4 separate regions of the Homo sapiens genome follow, and all the other regions are linked to region 1. The links are contacts of gene promoters, found by promoter capture Hi-C in blood cells and fetal thymus (Javierre and others, 2016). All regions are on one chromosome and are shown on one strand. Each heading gives the region's core, a stretch centred on a gene start or on the middle of the fragment in contact. The rest is flanking DNA. Distances are from core to core; before and after follow the strand shown. Region 1 holds the start of SF3B1 (splicing factor 3b subunit 1). Region 2 holds the start of INO80D (INO80 complex subunit D). Region 3 overlaps GLS (glutaminase). Region 4 overlaps GLS (glutaminase).

Evidence for each region. Contacts are between HindIII fragments. The CHiCAGO score rates a contact against its expected background, and 5 or more counts as called.
Region 2: the fragment with the promoter of INO80D here is called in contact with the fragment with the promoter of SF3B1 in region 1 in 1 of 17 cell types (neutrophils); the score reaches 11.6 in neutrophils.
Region 3: a contact is called between a fragment that was not itself captured here and the fragment with the promoter of SF3B1 in region 1, in 1 of 17 cell types (total B cells). The highest score is 6.3, in total B cells.
Region 4: a fragment that was not itself captured here is called in contact with the fragment with the promoter of SF3B1 in region 1 in 1 of 17 cell types (total B cells); the score reaches 6.0 in total B cells.

What each region holds. Positions count from the first base shown.
Region 1 is chr2:197,433,209-197,436,368 of GRCh38, reverse strand. SF3B1 (splicing factor 3b subunit 1) reads left to right here and starts at 1,341. Exons shown (of 25, transcript NM_012433.4): 1 at 1,341-1,397. The coding sequence starts at 1,370. RefSeq lists enhancers at 893-942, 963-1,272, 514-1,713, 1,458-2,004. The HindIII fragment of the contact is 13,845 bases long and covers 1-2,050 here.
Region 2 is chr2:206,084,830-206,087,968 of GRCh38, reverse strand. INO80D (INO80 complex subunit D) reads left to right here and starts at 1,795. Exons shown (of 11, transcript NM_017759.5): 1 at 1,795-2,068. INO80D-AS1 (INO80D antisense RNA 1) reads right to left here. Exons shown (of 2, transcript NR_186084.1): 2 at 465-2,012. RefSeq lists enhancers at 1,539-1,648, 1,659-1,708, 1,213-2,032, 1,759-2,048 and silencers at 2,099-2,308, 2,389-2,558, 2,579-2,778, 2,819-2,868, 2,770-3,064. The HindIII fragment of the contact is 4,007 bases long and covers 703-3,139 here.
Region 3 is chr2:190,933,174-190,936,454 of GRCh38, reverse strand. All of the region lies in intron 14 of GLS (glutaminase), which reads right to left. Among named protein-coding and RNA genes, the nearest start is that of GLS, 54 kb to the right of the region's middle. The HindIII fragment of the contact is 3,499 bases long and covers 1-3,281 here.
Region 4 is chr2:190,891,472-190,894,817 of GRCh38, reverse strand. All of the region lies in intron 1 of GLS (glutaminase), which reads right to left. Among named protein-coding and RNA genes, the nearest start is that of GLS, 12 kb to the right of the region's middle. The HindIII fragment of the contact is 308 bases long and covers 1,485-1,792 here.

The sequences.
Region 1 (3,160 bases), core at 92-2,591:
TGTGTCAAAAAAACAGAAAAAAAATCGTTTGTGTCACCTGATCTGAAGAAGGGAGGGAGTCTGGTGAGAGGGAAAGAGGGAGCAAGGCTGCAGGTCAGGAGTCACCAGGGACAGGTTATCTAAGCTCTCAGTCCAGTGCCATTGTCCATATATCTCCCACCTACCGCTAGCCTCAGGAAAATGGCTCCTCACTTTACCCAAAGTAGATATGGGGTCTTCCTGCAAGAGGAATACACCCATACCATTTCCCTCCCTTCAAACGACCATACTGACCCATGGTATGGTTAGTATTTGGGTTGCAGGTTTATCACATAGCGAGGTACTCCTCTCTTTGTGATGGCTCTAACCTTGATAACTACCTGTTTTCCTCGGCTGCTTCCGGGACCCATCTTTCTGAGCCTTTCTTTCTTTTTCATCGTCGAAGTCAAAGACCAGTGTGACAGTACAAGGTTATATTATAATTGATGCCCAGGAAAACAGACTGCCGTATTCTGATCTATTAAAATTCCTGATTTAGGAATACCGTCTAGGATTTAAGAGAAACATCTAATGAATGTTAATAATGACGATGAGTGGTTTTCTAGGAACCCATAAAGTAAAAGGCTTTAAAAGGGTGGCAAGATTGTCACTGTGCAACTCAGCAACGATTTGTGAGGCTCAACGAAATTCCTACCCAAATTATTTGCAATTATTAAACAGAAAGAATGAAAAATGACCTTGAATTACAGGGCGAAAGATGGGACTGTTAAGACTGTCTTCGTAACTAAGCACTGTAAAGACTGAGACAGCTGCAAGGGAAAGTTTTCCTCGAGCTCTTCCAGTGAATTTTGGGAAAAGGGATTGAATGTCTGAGGTCTCTTCCAGCTCTGAAACCGCAGCGTTTCGTACAGTGTTCATTTTTTTTTAATGGGAGGGGTCTCGGGGTCTTGCTCTGTCGCCCGGTCTGGAGGCTTGAGTACAGTGGCGCGACACGATTACGGCTCACGGCTGCCTCGAACTCCTGGGCTCAAGCGATGCTCCCGCCTCAGCCTCCAGAGTTGCTGGGACTCAGTGTCTGTTCTTAACTCCCTTCGTAGAATCCACTTTCCTCCAGGGCAAAGTTACTCACTTAAGGACCTTACGGCTCGGCTCGGGGATTTCCTGGGTCACCACGCAGGCGACTTCAGGGCCCAACCGTGTCTCCTCCCCCACCCACAATGCACCTCGCGGTTCCCTCTAGGTGGCAGTTCTGTCACGTGTCACCCGACGGAGCGCGCTCCCGTTTGGCGCACGCGCAGAGTGCAGCCCCCAGCTATTTTTCTCCGTGGCGGCGGCGACGAGCGGAAGTTCTTGGGAGCGCCAGTTCCGTCTGTGTGTTCGAGTGGACAAAATGGCGAAGATCGCCAAGACTCACGAAGGTAAGCGGTCTTTCCCTGCTTACGTGTTTTCTTCGTTGCTAGCCTAATAAAAGCCTTTTTTCCTAGGATTCTGCCTTTTTCTATGGTTTCTTTCGTAGGAGCTGAGCCCGCGTTTCGGGGCCAAGGGTCGTCTCCTCCGCGCCAGCGGCGCAGGCCACTGCCCCGCGTAATGGCGTCCTCCTCTTACACCCCCGACAGGCGCTTTGTTCAGTGTTTGGGACCTGCTACTTCAGAGTAGCTTCTCTTCTCTGACCAGAGGGCCTCGTTTAAGCGGCTTCCTCAGTAGGATTCGTGGGCAAGGGATCGGGGAAGCGGGCGTGGGGAGAAGGTCTCACTCGCCTCTCGACACTGTCGTCCCCATAGTTTGTGCAGAAGAGGGTCAGAAAAGCACTGAAATACGGCAGCCGCTTTTCCGGCAGACTGAATCGAATTTGGTTAAACCGAGATTCCGTTACTCCTACCCTTGTGTGTCTTCAAGCGTCAGTTACTTGTTTATTTTTCTTGCACGAAACGATTTGGGGATAAAATCTGGTAGTTGTTTTCCCTCCCTTAGTCACTTTTAGTATAATATTGATCTTTTTCTTTGGAGACTGGTTATTGGAGGAGCAGATGGAAGAGGAAAACATAAATTACTTTCATTAATGGCCGAAGCTTTCAAGCTAGTTGATCGTTTTATGGAATACAGAGTGTGCAAATTAGGAAAACGTTGGGAATAGACTGGAGTTCATTAGGAAGTATCCAGAGATGACAGAAAATGGGATCACTTTTCAGAAAAGACGAGGCATGAGAAGTTGGAACTGCATTCTTTGATTTCTGACTTGGAATCCGAGATTTTCACTGAGAACGAGACTTCTAAGTCACTTTTGTTTCATATGTTCTTTCTGGGTATTTGGCTCGGTATTAGTCTGTGAGAGGTAAGAGACTGAGGCCATCCAAAATTTTACAGTCTGATAGGAGAAACAGATGTGTATGTTCTCATTCTCTCATGAGGCCAGATGCATGCTTAAGTAGAAGAAAAAGCAGCATGTTCTGGGAACCTGGGTAACGGAATGATTATGTTTAGGGTTGTTTCACTGAGGAGGTTACATGACCGTGTTTTAAAAGGATCAGTCAGTTTTAAATCGGGAAGGACATCTGAGCCTGAGAACATCTTGTAACAAGGTATTGAATCGTGAAAGGTGTGTTTGAGTAGTAGTCCACTGTAGCAGGAACAGAGGGTGCAAGTAGAGAAGAAATAAATGAATCTGGAAAGGTTGGATTAGGACCAGAATGTGAATGGCTTTGAATAGTTGGGTCACCCAGAGGACCTGAAGTCCAGCTTTCTGCTATTTATCAAACATGCTAATGAATTGTCAATGACTTTAATATTAGTATACCATTTTAGGTATTTAGGATTTAAATGCTCTCTTAGTATTCCTAGGCTTTATTATTTTGTCTTTAGACTATCTCAAATATAACCTTTTGCAAAGTAAGTAGAAAATATAAAGTTGTGCTGTTTTTGTTCATTCAGGATGTTATTCATTTGGGGATATTGATAGTATAGCTTTGATACTTATTTATTGGTAACTTCAGTATAAGATGCCCTCAGACAGGAAAATCAGAATTCTGATCAGTTTTCCTGAATTTTTTAGAAACCCAGCTAAAAACTTTGGTCTATTGCTATTCATTGGCCAAACTTGTTATTTTTGAGATTATTCTATCAATGTGAATTAAGTGATACCATAAGAAAATAGCAGAACATTCAATACTTGAGCACTGTCTGT
Region 2 (3,139 bases), core at 546-3,045, 8.7 Mb before region 1:
AGACCATCCTAGCTAACACAGTGAAACCCCGTCTCTACTAAAAATAGAAAAAATTAGCCGGGCGTGGTGGCGGGCGCCTGTAGTCCCAGCTACTCGGGAGGCTGAGGCAGGAGAATGGCGTGAACCCAGGAGGCGGAGCTTGCAGTGAGCTGAGATCGGGCCACTGCACTCCAGCCTGGGCGAAAGAGCAAGACTCCGTCTCAAAAAAAAAAAAAAAAAAAAAAAGAAAATCCAGAATATTTAGGTAAGTACTATATTCAAAGTTATATGATAAAGATAAGGTTCAGCTAGAAACTAATAAATATCCGATATATGCATTACATGAACTCACTTTTAAATCAGGACAATTTCTAAATTTGGAAGTTATTTCTAAATGTTGTGTAATAAATTTTACAAAGAAATTAAATATTCTACTGATTCAGGGCACTAATATAACAAATTCATTCCTGCCAGGTTAGTCAACATGTGTTAGAAAAATAACTTTTAATACAAGATTTAAATCATCATCCCCAGTAGAACATACAAAGATAGTCGGTTCTTTTTCTATTATTTTTCTCTTTCTTCACAAAAATAGAAAAATGTCTCTGCAATTTATCCTCCAATAAGCGTTCTATTGGAATCGATGTAAATGGGTACCCTTTGTCCCTCTCACCTCTGTGCTAACAGCATTGTTTAACTCTGATCCCATTTATCTAGTAAGCTTTGCTCATTTAAAAAAGTAAATTCATGACATCCACTGCAATATACAAAAAGTCTATCATACAGGCTGGCAGCACATTGGAAGTTCTGAACTAACATAACTAACAAAAATAGCCACATTTCTCAATTCTGTGACACAAAAAGCAGATAGCAACATGTGTAATGCACCAAAGATCTAGCTAGAGTTTAAAGAATCTAAATAAATAAAAAAATTAAATGCCCGGATATAATTCTTAATAAGCTATTTTACCTCAAGAAAAATCTAAGGCTGTCTTTAAAATCTCTTTCCAGTTTTACTGTATCCTTTCTGTATGGGCAGCATAACAGAATTTCCAGAAACAGGGGCCGTTTTTAAATCCCCAGTGATAGCTGCCTTTATCTGCACTGTGGAAAATGACACACTGTATCATGCCTTTCTGGACAGTCCATAGGTTTTATTTACATTGCTTTGAGAAACAGACGAAAGACATGTTTTTTTACAATTGTCTTACAGCAATCTGTTCTGAGAGTAACATGTAACACAAATTTTTATATGCAATATATGAAAACATAAATATTTATATATACAATAACATAACCAGACAAATAAATGAAGTTACTATTAAGTCTCTTTAAGTATAAATTTACAAACTGACCACCAGCCACAGAACTTAGCCCTGTAATGGAGAAAAATTATTACTGGCTTAAAAAAATATTAAAATATCACTGTCACTAACATGAAAAAAATTAAAAACAGAAAATAAAAAACAATAACCACCGGAAAACCTGTGTCTTGTAAAGATTTCTTTCCATCAGAAGATGCAGAAACATTTTTCCCCCTGGAGCAAATGAAAACGTTTCTCATGCACCCCCCGTTTCTTCCCTGCTTTCTCCCCCAGGCGCGGGTGTAGACGGCCGGTGTGGACTTTTTTCCAGAGATGAGAAGTAAAAATTTGTACTTTATCGGGAGCGGGTGCACTTTTCCCCCTGGCCCCCCTTTGCTCTGCCTCCAAGATGGTAGGAAAGTTGTCGTTTCGGAGGGCAGAGGAGCAGCTCTCTGGTGTTATGTCCTCGCAGTGCCTGTAGTGGTGCTGTAGGAGGCTGCTGCCTCTTCTTGTACAGCCCCGGCAGCCCTGCCTTCTTGGCTGGAGAGTATATTCAGGGATTTCCCCTTAATAATCACCGACCCTGGGAGCACTTTTTAGTTTCCAAAATAAAAATATGATCCTCACCCCTCTTGCTTGACAGGGAAAGGCTCTCGCCGGAGCCCAGGGGGGAGCAGTAGCAGCGGCAGCCGAGCTTCCTAGTCCATTGCCAGCGCCTCTCACTCTGATCTGTCAGCCCAGCCGAGGGAACAGGGGGGAAGGAGAAAAAAAAAAGCAGCTGAAAGGTAAGCAGAGGCGGCCCCAGGCCCGGCCCACATCCCCGGGCTCCCGTAGGGCGGCGGGCTGGGCCGCGCAGGCTGGGCGGGCGGCGAGCGCGCTTACGTGAGGCCGGGGATTCGCCGGCCCACGCCAGGCCCCGGGCGGAGAATGAAAGGGTGAGTGGGGCCGGCGCCCGGGTGGTGGAGGCCGGGGGCCTGAGGGCCTCCGGGGCGCCCGCGGGCGGCGACGGCGGGCGGGCAGGGGTCCAGCCGGAGCCGGAGTGGGGCGAGCGGAGCGGCCTGCGCGGGCCAGGTGGGGGTGTGCGGCGGGAGGGGGGGGCGCCGGTAGGCCTCGGGCCGGTAGGCCCCACGGCAGCCGCGCCCTGCCCCCGCACCCCGGGCCTCCGCGCGCCCCCTCGAGTCCCCCGGGGTCTCCGGGTGGGACGGCGGCGCTGCTGGGCCGAATCCCGCGCCGGCCCGGAGGCTTTCCCGCGGGGCGGCAGGCCCGGGCTGCCGGGACAGGGGCGTCAGGGCCTAGGAGTGGGGAGTGGGGAATGGGCGCCCGGCTCCCCTTCCCCCGGGTCTCTCGCAGACGGCCCCCAGATTCCGGTAAGAGTTGAATTTATTTATCCCCCTCCTCCGCGCTCCGGACGGCCAGGCCGGGGCGGGGCGGGGCGGGCGGCCTGGCGGGCGTGGGGTCGGGTGGAGGGGCGGTGAGGAGTCAGGTGCAGCCGCGGCCCAGAAAGTTTCCTTTTAGGCCCGAACTGGGGGCCGCTGTCTCTCCGGGGAGCCCTGGTCCTAGCGCCCGGGACCCCCCAGGGCGTGGGGGAGCGCACTCGGCTATTTTGAAACTCTTTGCCAGTTCCTGTCCATTGAAGAAGGTACTCCGCCCCTGCACCCCTCGCCCGCGCCCCACCCAACTCCCCGCGAGCCCATTCGGGGCTGCTAACTCCAGCCCCTTCCCCCTAGAGCCCCCCAGGTTGGGGAGAGGGCCTTCTCTTCCGGTTTGGAAAAGTTTGCAAGGGGCTTTTCTTAGCTTTATTAGTTAGTGACTGGGTTTTTGGGGTGGGAAGGAGGAGGTAAACTCAGGTGGTGTTT
Region 3 (3,281 bases), core at 467-2,966, 6.5 Mb after region 1:
TAGTACACAATGTGAAAAGAACTGCTCATCATTTTCAGAATATGAATGGGTAGATTAAGGTACATAGATAAGGAAATCATATATATGTATGCACAAACGTATATACATATGCACAAACATATGCAACCCACACATTATATATAAATTATCAGGATATAGGCTGACATATCAGTATATTTCAGCAGTTCTTTCCACATAAATATATGCCTATTAAATATACACTGTCAGATCAAGATCACCAGGTATTTTAAGTCTCCTCTCTCTTTACTTCAAATAAATTTTTTAAAAAAATCTTTAAAAGCAAGTAATCATAAACTGTTACATATATTGAATATATCATTATACTGGAACTCCTTATTAACTAATTCTAAAAGAACTTCATTTAAAAATCCCACAGATTAATACAAATTCATGTAAACAACAGTATTTCCCCTTTCAAATAGTTTTAAAACTTCTACAATATATTCAGGAATCTCCAGAATATGAATGGCAGATTTAATTAAACATAAAAATGTAAAGTACTATATTTGACCTACAATACATGGAGCCTCTATAATTTGTACTATAATTTGGATCATGCTGTGGAAATATACAAAATTCCTTCTGAAAATGTAATCCCCTCAGAAACCAGTTAAGGTGAATTTCTGTATCACTGTCATTCTGTTTAATATAAATTCTACTGAGATTAACAGTTTTATTCTAAAGCAATATGATGATACTCTTCATTTGGTTTAGCAATGTTTTTCCTATTATTTAGGCAACAACAGATAAAATGAGAGTTACATAGTGAATAACAACAATATTCCTCCTCAGAAAGCAGAAATAACCTACAAATAGGGTTGCACTTTTTTTAAAGTTACCAAATGGAAAAACCACCAAAAAAATTGAGAGAAAAGTTTTTATTCAAATACTTCTAGTACAACCAATAAGAAAAGTCCTCCTCCCAAAAAAACCACTAATGCTATATTGCATTTTAAAAAATCAAATAAAGCCCTTTTGAATATTTCTAGTTTACTTTGAGGCAGCTTCAGAATAGCAAACACTTTAACAGTATCTTCATAAAGAATAATTTTTTCTAAGTTAAAATCCCAACTGTATTTGTACTTAAAATGTTGAAGTTGCTTTTATAAAAACAAAACAAAACAAAACAAAAAAAACAATAAAATCAGCTTAAAATAAATTTATTGTGCAATACAAAATGTAGGCATACTGGAAAATAAAGGTACATTATTAAATATACAAAGCAAATGAAAGCTAAACAACACAAATGTTTTCATCCAAACACTAAGATAAAATGCACAACATTTATGCTAAAAACAAAGTACTTCAAGAACAATATGCATTTCAAATGAAATGTTAATGATGCCAAAAAAAGAAAGAAAAAAGAAAATCAAATATGCTACATTGTAAATGCTTGAATATCAAGAATCAATAATGGCATAAAACAAACCCAATAATAGTGGGTACTATCAAGAACTTTGTTTAAAAAGGTGTTAAGAATACTGAAAGAATCAAAATATGTCCTTAAAACTGGCAAAGTTTTTTCTTTTTTAAGTTTGAGGGCCTATTCGCAGTATCTTATCTCTTCTTCCGTTTATACTTTTCTATAAAAATTTCTGCTCATTCTTAACATTTTCTAAACACAGTAGCTTAGATAACAGTACTTCATTTTTAAGTATGCATTTAAAGCATTACCAACACAAAAATAGTAAGTGACACAAATTAACAACCTAATTTTGAAATCTATACAGCTATGTATACGATATGAAAACTAAATCTTCATTTAATAAAGTAAAACCAACTTCGGAATGAAATGGTAAAATGTAACAATTTAGATCATAGGGGAAACCACAATGCCTTTTTTCCAATTAAGGCATTCGGTTGCCCAAACTACAAATGGCCCTGGTGCAACTAACATAAATATGCAACACAAATATGCAGTAAGGCCTTGAGAAGCATCCAGTTAGGATATGCATCTGAACATTCAAAGAACATTCAAGTAAGCATAAAATCCTTGGGAAAATCCTCTACAACTTAAAATATAATTATTTAAATATATAAATTTAATACTTAAGTTAGCCCAAAAGGCTTTTTGGCCAGCACCTCTAGAAGGGAATTTCTTTTCTTAATATCACAGTTCCCAAACTTAAGACATTATGATCAAGATTTTCTATCTTTATTTGCACTAGTATCTAAAATACTCAGTGAAATCTTTTTTGCTACACTATATTTACTTTTACAGACTTTCCATTACCACATACATACACCATCATGCTAAGAAACCACCAAGTTTTTCTTCTAATCCCCCACTAAAATTAACAGGTTTCAACAAACTTGAAATTATAGGGGAACTATGGGGAAAACCAGAGAAGTATATGGAAGAAGGAAGAAGTGTGAATAGGTCCTACAGAATTTTACAATCACTTTGCCAAGACAACTATAAATACTATGAATAATTACTTGAAATCAGGTTGTGTAGAATCTATAGTTCTCTTAAAAACAAGTTTTGATTCTCAATATTGCATTTTTATACCAAATAAAAGGATTTAGATCTAACGTATTTTAGTAGCATACTTACTACCTGCAGACTAAATTCATTTCTCAAGTACTCTAAAAAACTTCAAATAGAACAAACTTTATGAGATGCTATAACTTATCACAAAAGAAATATTAGCATTTATAAAATTAAGATAATAAAATGTAAAAGCTAAAAACCAAAATTTGCCATTCATATTTAAATATAACATAGAAAAAGTTATGTGGATAATATGAAAATAAAATTGTTTAGGTGAACAATTCACTTGAAGACACTCACTGTTTCTCCTTCTGAGTAACTAACCATTATAGCTTTTTATTGATGAAACATCATTATCTCACATCTGAAATTCTTTGGCTGGAATGTTTTAGTAACATAAGACACTCCTGTATATAACAACTCTGACAGAACAGAGGAGTTGCAAAATAAAAAAAGTAGGAGTCATATTTTAAAGCATTTGATAAATTTTTAAATAAATTTTTTAAAATGTAAAGCCAATCTATCACCAAAAATGGCATAAATGTAAACACAAGCTAATTTTATAATCCACTGCTATTTTAAATAAAATAATTTGGGGTTCATTATTTTGCCTTTTTAGTTTTGTATTTAGCATAGAAGTACCTTCTATTGCCACTAAAGACATCACATTAGTTTTAAAAATGGAAAAGAAAAAACAAAATGCAACAAAACTTATGAGTTTAATTTGTGAATTTTAGAACTAAGAATTACAATTTTCTGTTACTAT
Region 4 (3,346 bases), core at 389-2,888, 6.5 Mb after region 1:
CAGCAAACGTTCCGATAAGACTCAACACTCTGTTCAGTTGTTTTGGGGATTTTCTAAATATGATGACTATATTTACATATTATTCAAATAGTTAACCTGATTATAAAATCTGGGAGAGATAGCAATTAACTACTACACAGTAGTTAAGATCAAGTGCACAAGTTCTTGAATCCTGGCTGTAATACTATAGTTGTGTAACCTTGGGTAAATTAATTAACCTTTCTGTGATCCAGTTTCCTCATCTGAGAAAGGGAATAAAACAGTGCCTCCCTCATAGGGTTGTGGTGAGGATCAGTTGACTCAATACATTCAATATCTTTAGAACATGTCTGGCAGAGAGTAAGACTCCACTGACAGTAGTTGTAGTTATTATTTCTAAAGTGATCTAGGTTTACATATCCTAGTCAGCCCTTTGCATCCATAGATTCAACCAACACGGATAAAAAATATTCAGAAAAAAAATAAAAAAACGTACATTCAAAAGATAGTATAAGACTTATTTACATAGCATTTACATTTTATTAGGTATTATAAGTAATCTAGAGATGATTTAAAATATATGGGAGGATATATGTAGGTTATAGGCAAATATTATGCCATTTTACATAAGAGACTTGAGCTGTGGGGGACCTGGAACCAATCTCTTAACATATACAGAAGGACAAGGCAAGACTGTATACATCAAATTCTACAAATCATAAAGACTATTAAAAGAAAAACGTTACCAATAAGTATGCATTAAAAATCTTAATTAACTAAACTAGTGTAACACTAAAATGCTATGATTAACCAAACTTTTAAATACTGAATGTCACACAAATGTTTTTTAAAAACACATAGCTTTATCATTAAAATATTTAATGACATATCCTGATACATAATTATTCCCTGAAACTGTTTTTGCTCTTAGACAACTTCTAAAAATGCATTTGAAGCTGGGCGTGGCAGCTCACGCCTATAATCCCAGCACTTTGGGAGGCTGAGGCAGGAGGATCACTTGAGGTCAGGAGTTCGAGATCAGCCTGGCCAACACGGTGAAACCCCATCTCTACTAAAAATAGAAAAACTAGCCAGACGTTGTGGCAGGCGCCTGAATCCCGGCTACTTGGGAGGCTGAGGCAGGAGAATAGCTTGAACCCGGGAGGTGGAGGTTGCAGTGAGCCAAGATCGTGCCACCACACTCCAGAGTGGGTAACAGAGCGAGACTCTGTCTCCAAAAAAAATACATTTGGGATGTTTTAGTAATAATAACTACAATATATTGATCACTTACTTATATTCTACACACTGTGCTAAGTGTTTTACATGCATTCTAACTTAATCCTCCAAGGATTTTATGACAGAGGTACTACTGTTATCCAAAACATAGTATGATTTCTGGTACATACTTAGAAGCTCAACAAATTTGTTATTTGTTCAAAAAAATGACTACCTCTGTCCCCATTTCACAGATTAGGAAACAGAGGCTCAGAGGTTAAGAAGCTTTCCAAGGTTACACAATGGCAAAGATGGATTTTTCTGAATCCAAACTACTGCTACATTATACTGGCTCTCTAACTTACTAGCTTGTTATTACTTTTATAAGGTACAAACAAGTTTTCTAGGTCTTATCCTGACCTAATACCATTAAACACAGCTTAACAATACTCACCACCTAATATTCAAAGAAAAAACTGAACCAGCTGTCAAAAAATCAGTGGATAATAACATACCAATTATTTACAGCAAATGGTTGGTCAAATAAACTTCAGATAGTGGTAGTTTGTCACTTTAAAAAACTGCAGAATAAGCTTTCTATGTATTTATCACACAAGTAAATGGTATTTGCTTTGCCTAAAAGCTATGTAAATAACGTAAAATATACACTTTTTTAGCTTATGGCACATAGTGAAAAAAAATTAAAATGACCACGTTATTGCCAAAGCTAGCAAAAAAAGACAAATGTTTACTTGCTTTTAAACAAGAAATTAATTTTTATCTATAGGGGAAAGAATTTAAGCCAGCCCTAAAAAATAAGCTCACAAAATAAGCTGTCAAAACTGATAAAAAGAAATTACTACCTATTTCAGCATTTGAAACCTCAGATTTTGATCTGAGAATGAATTCGCTTCAACAGTCTGGCGAACAAACATACTCAAATATTCTCCTCAAACTTTCCACAAGGCAGAAACTACTCAAGATCATTCATGCCTTAACCCCCCTTTTCTCTCCCTAAATTAATTCTTTCTGGTAATTCTTCACAATAATGTATTTTTCATTAAAATTCAAAAGCTAAAAACTATAGCTTTTGGTAACTATATAGTAACTAGGAAATCCTTGAGAGAAGTATTTAAGTTTTAATGACAAATAGGATTATAGCAATCTTTCAAATCTTATCATCAACAATTATTAATAACCCAAATGAATCCTCCAGATTCCCCTGAAGAGAAAAACATAAAATGGTTATGATATTCAGCAATTCAAATAGGATATAACAGAAGATAATCTGAAGGAAAATCCTTATTTCTCACCTTTTTACTTCTTCTCCAACTTATACTGTCTCTCTCGTTTCCTTTCTAAATGCTGCCTTTAAGATCATCTTACCATCATATTGTTTCTTCTTTTACCCATTCCTTCCCCTACTTTAGCCTTTAACTGTCTTAAAAAATAATTTCTTAATGAAAAAGAAGAAAAATCCCATGCCATGTATGACATCATGTTAGACATCATTTACAGTCTAGAAGAAGTAGGAGACATGTACATAAAATGAGGAATTACAAGAATAGATCTATGACATCCAGACTTTGGAAAACTACTTCACTGTGGTCTAATAAGGTCAAGCTTTTTTTTAGATGAGGTGGAATCTGAGCTAAACCTGAAAGATGGGTAAGAGCTGGAAGCATGGCAACAGAAAAAGATTTCTGGCAAACAGACCAAAGGGATGAAAGTAAGCATTCACTTAGTGTTTATAAAGAACAAAAAACAGCTAGAGCACAGAATGTGTGAATTAAGGTGCCTGTTTCTACCTATAGGCTATTATATGAATACTTAATTTTTTAGTGTTGAGAATATATATATTCTGAATATATATATCTGAGGTAAATGAGGAGACTACCTTCCAAAATCTACATTAAGTTTAAATGCAGGGCCAACTTCTGCAACATGAAAAGAGGAACTGTCTTTGCTTACCCCACTGACCAAATTAGTTTCCCCATACCAAAGGGGGAATTCATACTCCTCAGTCTGGTATGCAGTTCTCTATAAATTAGTTTTACACTATTTATTCCTAACTTAATCCTTATAATTCCCCAATGTAATTGACTAGACTCAATGACCTGTAAATAAGTGCTATCTCATCTTTTTTTTT